4 separate regions of the Homo sapiens genome follow, and all the other regions are linked to region 1. The links are contacts of gene promoters, found by promoter capture Hi-C in blood cells and fetal thymus (Javierre and others, 2016). All regions are on one chromosome and are shown on one strand. Each heading gives the region's core, a stretch centred on a gene start or on the middle of the fragment in contact. The rest is flanking DNA. Distances are from core to core; before and after follow the strand shown. Region 1 holds the start of CASP5 (caspase 5). Region 2 overlaps LOC105369468 (a long non-coding RNA gene). Region 3 has its middle 55 kb from the start of LINC02552. Region 4 has its middle 3.2 kb from the start of LINC02552.

What was found. Contacts are between HindIII fragments. The CHiCAGO score rates a contact against its expected background, and 5 or more counts as called.
Region 2: a contact is called between a fragment that was not itself captured here and the fragment with the promoter of CASP5 in region 1, in 1 of 17 cell types (neutrophils). The highest score is 5.2, in neutrophils.
Region 3: a contact is called between a fragment that was not itself captured here and the fragment with the promoter of CASP5 in region 1, in 2 of 17 cell types (non-activated CD4 T cells and activated CD4 T cells). The highest score is 5.3, in non-activated CD4 T cells.
Region 4: a fragment that was not itself captured here is called in contact with the fragment with the promoter of CASP5 in region 1 in 6 of 17 cell types (activated CD4 T cells, naive CD8 T cells, total CD8 T cells and 3 more); the score reaches 6.8 in activated CD4 T cells.

Annotation. Positions count from the first base shown.
Region 1 is chr11:105,021,123-105,024,548 of GRCh38, reverse strand. CASP5 (caspase 5) reads left to right here and starts at 1,381. Exons shown (of 10, transcript NM_004347.5): 1 at 1,381-1,419. The coding sequence starts at 1,413. All of the region lies in intron 1 of LOC124902742 (a long non-coding RNA gene), which reads right to left. The HindIII fragment of the contact is 8,276 bases long and covers 1-3,426 here.
Region 2 is chr11:105,372,619-105,376,266 of GRCh38, reverse strand. All of the region lies in intron 2 of LOC105369468 (a long non-coding RNA gene), which reads left to right. Among named protein-coding and RNA genes, the nearest start is that of CARD18, 230 kb to the right of the region's middle. The HindIII fragment of the contact is 2,620 bases long and covers 950-3,569 here.
Region 3 is chr11:104,662,515-104,666,106 of GRCh38, reverse strand. No RefSeq gene overlaps it. Among named protein-coding and RNA genes, the nearest start is that of LINC02552, 55 kb to the right of the region's middle. The HindIII fragment of the contact is 942 bases long and covers 782-1,723 here.
Region 4 is chr11:104,610,774-104,614,172 of GRCh38, reverse strand. No RefSeq gene overlaps it. Among named protein-coding and RNA genes, the nearest start is that of LINC02552, 3.2 kb to the right of the region's middle. The HindIII fragment of the contact is 3,436 bases long and covers 394-3,399 here.

The DNA of each region.
Region 1 (3,426 bases), core at 132-2,631:
AAGCAGTTTTAGTCAGTTGAAGAACAGCATTCCAGGAAGTAGATAAGAGGATTCCTTCAGAACTGTCTCCAATCAAAGCGTAAGATGACAGGGAGATGGGGAGGAGAAGACTCCATCATGATTCCTCAGCACAGTTTAAACAAGAAATACATTTATTGAATAAACAATCCTTTCCTTGTTTCTTTTTGCTGTTGTTGTTGACTTTGTTGAGTATCAGTTGGTTATAGGTGTGTGGCTTTATTTTGGGGTTCTCTATTCTGTTCCATTGGGCTTTGTGTCTGTTTTTTTTGTACGAATACCTTGCTGTTGTGGTTACTGTAGACTTCTAGCATAGCTTGAAGTCCAGTAATGTGATGCATCCATCTTTTTGAAAAGCAGTTTGGAGATTTACCAAATAACTAAAAAAAGAACTATCATTTGTCCAAGCATCCCATTACTGACTGAATCCTCAAAGGAAAATGTACTGTTCTATCAAAAAGACATGTGCTTTCAAATGTTTGTCGCAGCACTATTCACTGTAGCCAAAATAATAGAATCAACCCAGGTGTCCATCAATGGTGGATTGGATTTAAAAAAATGTGGTACACTGCTACTATGGAATGTTACACAGCCATAAAAATGAAACCCTGCCCTTTGCAGCAACATGGATGCAACTGGAGGCCATTATTCTAAGCAAATTAATGCAGAAACAGAAAACCAAATATCACATAATCTCACTTGTAAGTTCTAGCTAAATATTGTGTACACATGGACATAAAGACGGGAATAACAGACACAGGGAAATACCAGAGGGAGGAATGAAGGAAGAAGGCAAGAGCCGAAAAACTATGTACTGGGTGCTATTCTCACTACCTAGGTAATAGGTTAAATTGTACTACAAACCTCTGCATCACCTAATATACTCTTGTAACAAACCTGCATATGTACCCCTGAAACTCAAATAAAAATTGAAATGAAAAATAAAGAAACCCAAGATATACAAAATATTTGGTTAATTCTTATGGGAAGATGCAAGGAAACTAGTTAGATTTTACTCATTCAGGACATGTGTTTTTAGACGAGCAGAGGTAGAAAAACTGACAGATCAGAAGAGAGGGATGAATAAAAGAAGATGTGGGGCTATGGAGAGAGAAAAGGAAAAAGAAAACCAGGCTGAGGTTTCAACCCACAAAACAATGTTTTGTCATTTGCATTTTTTTTCCCCAGGGAAGAATCTAGAGTTCAAGAATAGAAAGCCAATTTGCTTACTACAGGGCACTTCCCAATGATGAAACTATAGGTTCCCAGAAGCAACTTCCCATAATCTGTAATCACTTGTCCCCACTCCCTGCAATAAGGAAGTACCTAGTGTATTTTATCTCTGAGTCTGAGGCACTTTCCAGTGCTGTACAAAGAGACAGAGGCTGTTAGCTATGGCTGGTGAGTCTGGGCCCTTTTCTGACTAGCAGCTGGGTACTCAGGTCTTAGAAAAATCTTGATTTATTGCTATGTGACAGGCAGAAATACCAAAAGGGAAATCAACCAATAGTGTGCATGCTGAATCTTTCTCTTATTGGTGGTATGTAGTTTGAATCCTGAGACTGTGTAGAGACACTGAAGGAGAGTATGTTCTCTAGATGTTTTCAAGCCAGAAAAAGGTTAATTCCTTTCTTTCAGCTTCTGGTAATCAAAGAGAGAGTAAGGAAAGACAGAGTAAGTTATTTGTGTGAGAAAACTCCGGAAATTTCTAAATGCACTCTGAAATCTTCTCTGCTTCCTCTTGATTCCAAATTAATCCTCCAGACTATGAACCTTCTCCCCACAATCAGATCTGAGAGCCTCTGTGTTCTCAACGTGTTGTCATCTCTTATCTTGAATTATCTTATTGGTCTGTTTAAAGTGATTGCATTTTTCCACCTTTCTATGTAGTCCTGGTACTAACTCTTATAATGTAATATATCTTAGGTTGCTATCATAGACTTTTAACTGTCTTCCCACTCCCAAAAACTTAACCCTTCAGTCCATACTGCACACTACTTTCAGGCCAACTGTCTTATACACAGAAGCTAAAAAAGCCTATGAGTTGGAGTCCTGGGCTACTTAAGCAGCTCGTATTCCAGCAGGTCATATTGCGTCTTTGGTTTCATTCTCCTCACTGGAAAAAGGAAGAAACTGGAATAGATCAGTGCTTTCTAAACCTTATAACATATATGAATAATCTGCAGTCTTTTTTTTTCTTTAATTTATTTATTTATTATTATTATACTTTAAGTTTTAGGGTACATGTGCACAATGTGCAGGTTAGTTACATATGTATACATGTGACATGCTGGTGGGCTGCACCCACTAACTCGTCATCTAGCATTAGGTATACCTCCCAATGCTATCCCTCCCCCCTCCCCCCACCCCACAACAGGCTCCAGAGTGTGATGTTCCCCTTCCTGTGTCCATGTGTTCTCATTGTTCAGTTCCCACCTATGAGTGAGAATATGCGGTGTTTGGTTTTTTGTTCTTGTGATAGTTTACTGAGAATGATGATTTCCAATTTCATCCATGTCCCTACAAAGGACATGAACTCATCATTTTTTATGGCTGCATAATATTCCATGGTGTATATGTGCCACATTTTCTTAATCCAGTCTATCATTGTTGGACATTTGGGTTGGTTCCAAGTCTTTGCTATTGTGAATAATGCCACAATAAACATACGTGTGCATGTGTCTTTATAGCAGCATGATTTATAGTCCTTTGGGTATATACCCAGTAAAGGGATGGCTGGGTCAAATGGTATTTCTAGTTCTAGATCCCTGTGGAATCGCCACACTGACTTCCACAATGGTTGAACTAGTTTACAGTCCCACCAACAGTGTAAAAGTGTTCCTATTTTTCCACATCCTCTCCAGCACCTGTTGTTTCCTGACTTTTTAATGATTGCCATTCTAACTCGTGTGAGATGGTATCTCATTGTGGTTTTGATTTGCATTTCTCTGATGGCCAGTGATGGTGAGCACTTTTTCATGTGTTTTTTGGCTGCATAAATGTCTTCTTTTGAGAAGTGTCTGTTCATGTCCTTCGCCCACTTTTTGATGGGGTTGTTTGTTTTTTTCTTGTAAATTTGTTTGAGTTCATTGTAGATTCTGGATATTAGCCCTTTGTCAGACGAGTAGGTTGCGAAAATTTTCTCCCATTTTGTAGGTTGCCTGTTCACTCTGACGGTAGTTTCTTTTGCTGTGTAGAAGCTCTTTAGTTTAATTAGATCCCATTTGTCAATTTTGGCTTCTGTTGCCATTGCTTTTGGTGTTTTAGACATGAAGTCCTTGCCCATGCCTATGTCCTGAATGGTAATGTCTAGGTTTTCTTCTAGGGTTTTTATGGTTTTAGGTCTAACTTTTAAGTCTTTAATCCATCTTGAATTAATTTTTGTATAAGGTGTAAGGAAGGGATCCA
Region 2 (3,648 bases), core at 1,010-3,509, 350 kb before region 1:
TGATTTAGGGCATCTGGCAGAAGAAATTTCTAAGCAGCAAAGCGTTCAAGAAGTGACCTGGGTACTATTAAAAGCATTCAGTTTTATGTATTCACAGAGATATGGTTTGAAATAGGAACTTATGTTTAAAAGGGAAGCAGAGCATAAAAGATCAGAAAATTTGCAGCCTGTTGACGCAATAGAAGAGAAAAACCCATTTTCTGGGGAGAAATTCAAGCTGGCTGCAGAAATTTGCAAAAGTAATGAGGAGCCAAATGTTAATCGCCAAGACAATAGGAAAAATGTCTCTAGGGCATGTCAGAGGTCTTCATGGCAGCCCCTCCAATCACAAGCCAGGAGGCCTAGGAGGAAAAAATGGTTTCATGGGCTGGGCTCAGGGCCTTGCTGCTTTGTGCAGTCTTGGGACTTGGTGCCCTGCATCCCACCTGTGCCTAAAAGAGGCCAACATGGAGCTCAGGCCATTGCTTCAGAGGATGCAAGCCCAAAGTCTTGGTGGCTTACACATGGAGTTAGGCCTTCACTTGCACAGAAGTCAAGAATTGAGGTTTGGGAACCTCTGCCTAGTTTTAGAGAATTTATGGAAATGCCTGGATGTCCAAGCAGAGATGTGCTGGAGGGACAGGACCTTCACGGAGAACCTCCGCTAGTGCAGCATGAAGGGAAATGTGGGGTGCGAGACCCCACAGTGTCCCCAGTGAGGCACTACCTAGTGGAGCTGTAAGAAAAGGGCCACCGTCCTCCACACACCAGAATGGTAAATCTACCAACACCTTTCACTGCGTGCCTGCAAGAGCCACAGACACAACACCAACCCATGAAAGCAGCCAGGAGGAGGGCTGTACCCTGCAAAGCCATAGGGGTGGAGCTGCCCAAGACTATGGAAACCCACCTCTTGCATCAGAGTGACCTGGATGTGAGACATGGAATTAAAGGAGATCATTTCAAAGCTTTAATGTTCGACTGGCCTGTTGGATTTTGAACTTGCATGGGGCCTTTAGCTCCTTTGTTTTGACCAATTTCTCCCATTTAAAATGGGTGTGTTTATCCAATGCCTATAGTTCCATTGTATCTAGGAAGTAACTAATGTGCTTTTGACTTTAAAGACTCATAGGCAGAAGGGACTTGACTTGTCTCAGATGAGCTTTTGGACTGTGGATTTTTTAATTAATGCTGAAATGAGTTAAGACTTTGGGGGAATGTTGGGAAGACATGATTGGTTTTGAAATGTGAGGACATGAGATTTGGGAGGGGCCAGGGTGTAATGATATGGTTTGGCTGTGTCCTTGTCTAAATCTCTTCTTGAACTGTGGCTCTCATAATTACGCTGTGTTGTGGGAGGCACCTGGTGGAAGATAATTGAATCATGGGGGCAGTTTTCCCCATACTGTTCTCATGGTAGTGAATAAGTGTCACCAGATCTAATGGTTTTATAAGGGGTTTCTCCTTTCACTTGGCTGTCATGCTGTCTTGCCTGCCACCATGTGAGACATGACTTTGCTCCTCATTCACCTTCCACCATAATTGTGAGGGCTCTACAGCCATGTGGAACTGTGAGTCAATTAAACCTCTTTTCTTGTAAATTACCCAGTTTCGGGTGTGTCTTTATCAGCAGTGTGAAAACGAACTAATACAATTAACGATTGATTTTATAACACATGAAAATGCACTGTTTTATAAAATCTTAGTGTCTCTTGTTATTCTAATTGACTGAAGAGAAGAAAAACACCTGGGGCTTAGTCAAAGTCACATTGTCTGCATGATTTCTAAGACATCATTGCCTCCTTCCTCATTTTTCTGTTGATTAATATCAAATATACAGGGAAAGTGATCTGGACTGGAAATTCAGGAAGCTAGACCACCTTTCTAGGAGTTGGTCTAGCTTCCTGAATTTTCAGACCAGATCACTTTCCCATATATTCCTTTGGCTTTTTTTTTTTTTTTTCAAGTCTAAAATCTAGATGGAGAATTGAAAATAGATGACATTGGCTGGGTGCAGTGGCTCATGCTTGTAATCCCAGCACTTTGGGAGGCCAAGGCGCGTGGATCACCTGAGGTCAGGAGTTCGAGAACAGCCAGACCAACATGGAGAAATCCTGGCTCTACTAAAAATACAAAATTAGCTGGGCGTGGTGGTGCATGCCTGTAATCCCAGCTACTCAGGAGGCTGAGGCAGGAGAATCACTTGAAACTGGGACTCAGAGGTGGTGGTGAGCCGAGATCGTGCCATTGCACTCCAGCCTGGACAACAAGACCAAAACTCTGTCTCAAAAAATAAAAGAAAAAAAAAAAGAAAAGAAAATAGATGACATTAAGTATTGGCATTTAATTTCAGGTATTTCTCTGCATGAAAATTCTTAAACTATTAACTTAGTAATGCTATTTTGAGCACACCAAAGGCAATCATAATGGTACACACTGGTACAGTCAGACTAGGAAAAAATTAGGAAAGAGATGATGATACGTTAGAAATTTAACTTTTATTTTAACATTTAATATATTTGTGTGTATATAACTATGTAATTGACCTTATCATAGTAGTAGATAGATTTGACTTTAAAATTATTTTATACTTGGTATTTAGCAGACAGTAGCTTGATTTTTTGCCTTGTTAATTTAACGATAAAATTATTTTTTCTCCTTGCCTTACACATTTGAAAATTTTAGATAATCTGGCCGGGTGCGGGGGCTCACACCTGTAATCAAAGCACTTTGGGAGACCGAGGCGGGCATATCACCTGAGGTCAGGAGTTTTGAGACTAGCCTGGCCAACATGGTGAAACCCCGTCTCTACTAAAAGTACAAAAATTAGCCAGGTGTGGTGGCGCACACCTGTAATCCCAGCTACTCGGGAGGCTGAGGCAGGAGAATCGCTTGAACCCAGGAGGCAGAGGTTGCAGTGAGCCGAGATTGCGCCAGTGCACTCCAGCCTGGGCAACAAGAGCAAAACTCCATCTCAAAAAAAAAATTAGATAATCTATCCAGACTTTTGCGATATAGTTTGTAACACTGGCCCTGATGTGAAATTACTGGAAGCTCACTTCAACAACCTGCCTTTCTCAGTCCTCTCCTCATCCACCTCTCAATTCCAAATAACTAACACTATGAAGTGATGCATATGTTTTTAATTTTTTGATAGGAAAATCTTATATTTTACATATTAATATACAATCATTTTCAAATACTCCTTTTCAAGAAAACAATGGTTGAAAACAACAAGATTACATAAAACAAGATCATTATGTTGATAGGTAAGATGTAAAAGGGGATTATTTTTTCCCAAAAAATTTGATAAACTCAATCTTTAGGAAAATCACCGACAAGATCATATGGATGATAACAATGACAGTAAACCTAGTTTCTCATTAGTGGGCATTAGCTTGCAGAAAACAAAATTAGCTTTGTAAATGTGTATTATTTGTATTACTATCTATAAACCATTATTTTTAGGAAAAGATGAAGTAGTTACACTATTTCACCCAAGATAAAAGAATTCAGAAAAAAAATACATTTTATAGTTACTATTTACAGAGAGTTTTATAAATGTTAAGATTCTAAAGAAGCCTTAAGCTTATTGAGCTAGTGTTCTCATTTTAACATGTGTGTGATTACAGTAAGCTGTGTCAAAAGTCATCCTCTGAGTAAGGTTAC
Region 3 (3,592 bases), core at 3-2,502, 360 kb after region 1:
TGGCTTGATAACTCCTTTCTCTTTAGTGCTAAATAATAGTCCATTGCCTGTATATATAACAGGCTATTTATTCATTCACTTATTGAAAGACAGCTTGGTTGCTTCCATTTTTTTGGCAATTATAAATACAGCTGCTATAAATGTTCATATGCAGGTCACTGTGTGGGCATAAATTTTAAGTCATTTGGGTAAATATCACAGAGTGAATTGCTGGATCATGTGGTAAAACTCTGTTTAGCTTTGTAAGAAACTGCCAAACTGTCTTCCAAAGCAGCTGTACTATTTTGCAATCACCAGCAATGAGTAGAATTTCCTTTCGCGCTTCCTTCTTGTCAGTATTTGGTGTTGTCAGTGTTCTGAATTTAAGTCATTTTAATAGGTGTGTAGAGGTGTCTCGTTGTTTGAATTTTCAGTTTCCTAATGGCATATAATGTGGAACATCTATTTATCTTTGTTTTGCTTGCCATCTGCTTATCTTCTTTGATGAGATGTCTCTTCAGATCTTTTGCCCATTTATTTATTGGGTTGTTTGCTTACTATTGTTGAATTTTAAGACTTCTTTGTACATTTTGGATAATAGTCCTTTTTCAGGTATGTGTTTTGCAAATATTTTCTCTCATCCTGTGGCTTCTTTTTTTAAATCTCTCAATTCATTGACTTGTCACTCAGGAAAAGCACTAGCCTTTAAGTGAAACATCAAAAGTGAAAAATATATTGAACGTGTCAGGCACTGTGCAAAAAACATAATGGTGAATGAGACAATCCTTTTATTCAAGAAGCTTAGTAAACAAAGAAAGAGATAGAAAAAAAAAGATGATTAATCCATAATGTGTGTTACAACAAGGATGATAAAGAGGGTATATTCAAGGTGCACATAACAGCCCATGGAGAATCAGGCAAGTCTTCCTGGAGGAGGTGCCTTCAGATCTGAAATTTAAAATATGTTTAATAATGGGTAAGGAGTAGACTTTGCAGAAAATGCATGTGTTATGAGGCAAGACATTAAAAAGAGAAACAGCATGGTTTGGAAAGGGTACCACTAGCCTTTTGGTATTTGAGTCAGGGAATGATGAGCAACGAGATTGGAGGGCTGAGATGGAAATAGATAGTGGGGACCCTCATATTCCCAATTAGAGAGATTGATCTGCATCCAAGAGGTGTCTTGGAGTATTTAGAGAAAATTAAACACTAAGTAAAATTGTGAATTCTCCTATCAAGAAAGAAAGGCAGAGAGAATAAAGCATAGATCATCCCTTCCTCTGTTTATGTTGCTATGCAAGAAAGCCTAAATCTGGGTAATTTATAACGAAAAGAGGTTTATTTGGCTCATGATTCTGCTGACTATACAGGAACCACGGCACCAGCACCTGCTTCTGATGAGGGTCTCCGACTGCTTCTGTTCATGGCACAAGGTGAAGGACAGCCAGTGTGTAAAGAGCACATGGCAAGAGAGAGGAAAAGTGGGGATCCACCCCCACGACCCAAACACCTTTCACCAGGACCCATCTCCAACTTTGGGGAACAAATTTTAATGTGAGATTTGGTGGAGACAAATGTTCAAACCATACCAGATAACTCACAACATCTGCCACTATGCTTCTGTTAAGGAAAAAGGTAAGATTAAAAAAAATAGTTTGTGTCTTAAGGAATATGTGTAAGTTCACCAGCAAAGCATGGATGCCTAATCTGGTAAACAATAATAGAAGGAAACGAAAAGTAAGCTTTCATATGCAACTGAAAACTTGAGGAAAAGGCAACAAATTTAGTTCAGTAAAAGGATGGGTTTTCCTCTCTAGCTTTGTGAAAAAAGCCTACTGGTTAATTAGTACAAACGTATTCATTTTAATATCCAGCTCTGTCCATGATTTGAATATACAATGATCATAGTAGCAATTCTTCTTTCCTTATCATTTTATATTATTTTACAAAGCTCAAAGTTAACGTCAGAGGATATTTCTTCAGGACTCCACAATAGTTAAAATGGAAGAGATAAATTTGCATTTAAAAATTTCAGACGTTTCTGCCAAAGTTCACCTTCACTGAGTAGCTCATTTACCTCAAGACTTTATTTAAAGGCAATTGTGCCTGAGAGCATCAGAAATTGTAATGTGGTCTCATTAAAAACCTCAGCACAGCTAAACTCCCATGGAGGATGGAGGAAACTGGAAGAGGCATTCCTTTTATTCTGACCACAGGTAAACAAAAAATTTCACAAGTTTTCATGAACCCATCAGAAAACTGATGTTACATGACAATCAAATAGACTAAAATCTGATGAGATAGGAGTTCCCTGGATGAGACAGGACATGAACCCAGGATTACTTGGCAGAACACTAGAGAAAGACATGCCAGTTGGGCAACAAACCAGTAAGGATTCAGCTCCATGTTCCCCAGATTCCTAAAGGGCAGGAAGAGGCTCATTAAGAGCATGATGTCACATCATCATGTGGCTCTCTGGGAGCCACAGACACAGGGGTACTTTACTCACATTCACAAGCTCTTCTTCATGAACCTCCACTGGGTGCTCGCCAAAACGACTGGGACCAGGCAAAAAGGCTCTGGTGGTACATGCCTAGTAAGGCAGTTTCTTACAAAGTTAAACATATACCTGAACTACAATTGAGCAATCCAACTTCTCTAAGTATTTACCCAAGAGAAAGAAACACTTTTATTCACACACTATCTTATATGCAAATCTTTATAGTGGTGTTAGTCATAACTAGCCAAAACCTCTAAATATCCTAAATAGTGAATGGATAAACAAACTGATGCATCCGTACAATGGCATACTAGTCAGCAACTAAAAGAACTAAACTTCTGTTGTACTCTGCAGCATGGATGAATCTCACATTCATTATACTAAGTACAAGAAGGCAGAATGGAAAGGTTTCATACTAAAATAATTTCATTTATATTACATACTGGAAAAGACAAAAGTATAGGAATGGAAAAATGAATCAGTGCCTTCCATATACTGGGGTGGGGTTACAATTTGGTCGCAAGGGAGCATGAATGAATTTTTAGGGTGATGAAATTAAACTATTCATTATTTTGATTGTGTTGGTGGCTACACAAATGCATGCTTTTGCCAAAATCAAGAATTGTGCCCCCAGATGAGTGAATTTTACTGTATGCAAGTTATGCAAAAATGGAAATAAAATAATAAAGACTCATCTTCTTTGAAAATAAATTGCAACTGTACCTCATTTGATGAGTGAAAAGGCAAGCATGCAAATTAATTTTAGTTTTAGAGGTCAACCAAACTCCAAATTTACAGTTCTCATCATCATTCTTCTCTTTTCTTTAAAACTGAGCCATAAGTGGCTAAACAGTCTATTTGGAAAGCCCAATTCAAAATAGCAAGTTGAATTGATTGGGAATGCAATTTGGGCCTATATGTATAAATTTGCAGCAATACTCTAGAAATACTATTAAAAAATATAAAATACTGTGAACAAAATATTACATATTACGTTTAGTAAAAGGAATCAGAATTCTATATTATTTCAATCAGCCTTTTATTTTTAGGACAAATAAAGACCTGCAATAAGTGCTGCTCCCATGTAAAAAATGTTGTAGTAAGATCACGTAA
Region 4 (3,399 bases), core at 862-3,361, 410 kb after region 1:
ACTTTGCAAAATACTGACTCTCTATATATAGTATATAAGGTATATATATATATATATGGGGTCAATATTTTGCAAAGTATCTGAGAAAGAAAAATTATTTCACAAATTTTCTTATTAGTATATTCCTGGAAATTTTAATGGACCCTCATTCTGTTTTTTATACTTGAAGTAATAGATCAACTCTCCTGAGTGACATCACAATGTGAACATGAGTACTTAACAGCTACACAAAAAGAAGAAACATAAATCTGTAATAACAAGCTACAAATGCCCTTTCTATATTAGTTGAGTATTTTAAGCTCCCTTTATAGATAAGATGAGCTTCCAGTTTCACATCTGATTCTTCATTCAGGTGAGTTTTTCACCTTTCTTACTGGTGTCAGAGTGAAAGCTTTTATTCATTGTGCATTTTTCCCCCTCCTTACACAGTTTCAAAAGAGTTAAAATTTTAGGAGCTATAGAAAATGTATGGGCACTTAAACAAGACAGTGCATAAGCTAAATCCAAGTTACACCAATTTCTGACATGCAGTATATGTTAATTTATTGAGCCGTAGGCTTATATCTATGTAAAGGAAAGAATAACATCTACCAAACAAGTTTAATGTAAGAACGTAATGAATAACATATGCAAAGAATATCATTGATACCTAATAAGTATTCAATACAAGCTGTTATTGTCACAGATTTACATGTATTAAATCATCTGAGTTTTTTCTACATAAAATTGTTGAGATTTTACTTGATGAATGGGTAAAGAAAGAAAAATGTTAAATTATATATTTATTTTTTAACCAAATATTAGTTGAGCATTATACCCAGTTGTGCCATATCCTAGATAAAATGAATAAACCATGTCATCTAACAGCTCAAAGCTAAGTAGGGAAGACAGAAACACAAACATAATTACAACAGACTCTGAAAAGTGTACAAATTAGTATATGCATGAAGTATACTTGTGACTGATATAAGGGGTTTCAGTTAAGTATTCACAGAAAGAATACTTGGCCAACTCTTAAAGAATGAGTAGAAGTTCTTTACATATAACTTAAATATAAAACTACCTCAACCTTAAGTACTACAGAATACATAAACGAGTGCTCTAACAGTGAACAGACTCAAAAAACTTGATATGACCTTGTTTATAAGACTAGATCACTTTATTGATGAACTTAATAGCTCCTTACATATATCCCTTTTTGCTGAACCTGCATTAGGAATATTGAAATGCATTCTCTCTCTTTGTTCAGCCTCCTTGAACTTATCCACTCTATATATGTATAGAATCAAGAAAACAGCTGGGAATTTTTCCCTGGAGTTGCTTTCTTTTCAGCATTTATTATTTTCCTTCCTTTAAATAATATCCCATCTGCTTTTGGGAAACTACTAGTTTCGCATTATTGGTTATGCAATTTTGATGGTACTGCCTAGGGTTTATTCGCACAGCTCACACTCTTGGCCACAGTGATTGGGGTCAAAGAAAGGTTCTAACACGTTGATTATTTATTGGATGAGTTCACTAATCAATGGATGTATGCAGGCTTCAGCCAATAGGCACATTATATTTTCCTGGCCATCAGGATTGCTACAGATATTGACCAGTAATTTAGTCCAGCCCCAGAGGTGTGATCCTTAGAACAATTGTTAGGCCTGTGAGACAACAGCCTCCCTGAAGTGGGTGGTAGAAGAATGTAAAGGTTGCTGCTTGCTGCTGCTCTTGTACATCCGTTGAGAGGCACTATTCAAAGGGCTGAGCTAGCCCAGAGGGCAAGGGGCAGTGTAAAGAGAAATTCTAATCATTAGAATTTTAGTTTCTAATTAAACTGAACTACTTGTTTACATTATAGCCAATAATACCTCAGTTTTATTAATCCAATTTAAGTTGAATTGTCAATCACTTAGAGCAGAAAGATCCCTGACTGATAGATACCATCACCTTTCTGGCCAACTTGTTGCAATTCTTCATTTGCATAAGTTGGGAAACTTTTCACTTCTTAACAGTTGGGATCTTATCAGTCTACAGAGAGGCAGTCTTTTTTTTATCCATTTTCCACTTGTTTCACAAAATCAGGATGATTCAGGAACCGCCATCTATGTAACTGAGAGCACTCAAGTGTAATACTTTATGATACCTTTTGTCATCTTGTTTCTTTCCTTTATGTTATCGCTTTACTTTTCTGGTTCAGAAAGTCAATTACCATTTTCATGGGTCTTCCAATGGCCTTCTTTTCCTAAAGCACCTTATTTTTATATAGATATTTTAGCTTTTAAGAAATTGATGTATACAGTTAACACGCCGAGCACATTCTTATATTCCATGCTGTTAGGTAGCTACTAAACCGATTTACAGCCTGTCAGAGCAACTATCTCTGCAAACCACTTTACCAAAGTTTAAAATTATTTGAAAATAGTAAATTAAAAATAATTACCTGGAAAGAACTATTCTAACTTACCAATGATCGGATTCACAGGATTGCCACAAATTGGGTATGAATAATATCTAAAAATATAAAATGTAATAAAATATACATAATATTATGTGTAAAACCATATTATGTATACGATAACTTCCAAATTTGTTTTTTTTTCTGAATCACAAAGTGCTTCAACGTTATCAACAAAGATCAATTACCATGTTTCCGTGAATTTGTACATGGGCTTCTTGTTTCTTAGAGATTTATGGTTGACTGCTTGATTGATACGTTTTATCTTATTTAAATTGACTATGGTGCCATCAGTTTTTTTCTCACTTAAGTTCTACACATATATATGCATAAAATGTTGGTTATTAGTTATTCCCCTTGCTTTTCCTGCGTCATTTATTTTCTTCAATAAGCGGCTTCAGGGAAAAAAATAAAACACTGGCTAAGGATTAAAAACAGTTACTGTTCTCATCCAAGTTACAAATTAGTGTTTATAATTAAACTCCAAACTTAACAATTTCTTTGTTTTGAATCCATCCTGTTGAGTGGTTACAGAATTGTCTATTTCTTCTAACCTAATGCTAATAATGTGCTGGCTTCTACATCTTTATAATTGTTCATTAGCTTCAAGCAGTATGCTTTGACTTCTATGTCCTTGAAACTATGAAATTATGTTTCTATAATTCAGTTTTTCTTAATGTTTCTACTTTACATAGAATGTATTATGAAACTGAGATCTGAGGCATTTTTAGAAATTCTGAACGGGGGATATCAGTTTAGTCAGAACAGTGTCAAATGTGGAACCCAAACAACATAATTGGTACTTTGAGGTTGAGGTTGATGTGACATTCTCTTGAACATATTTTAATACTAATGCATATTTAAATTAAGATTTTAACCTCCTGACGTTCAAACCAACAAGCCAATCACTATCCAACTAGAGAGACATGTCTTACAAATAAGATGACACGACAAAA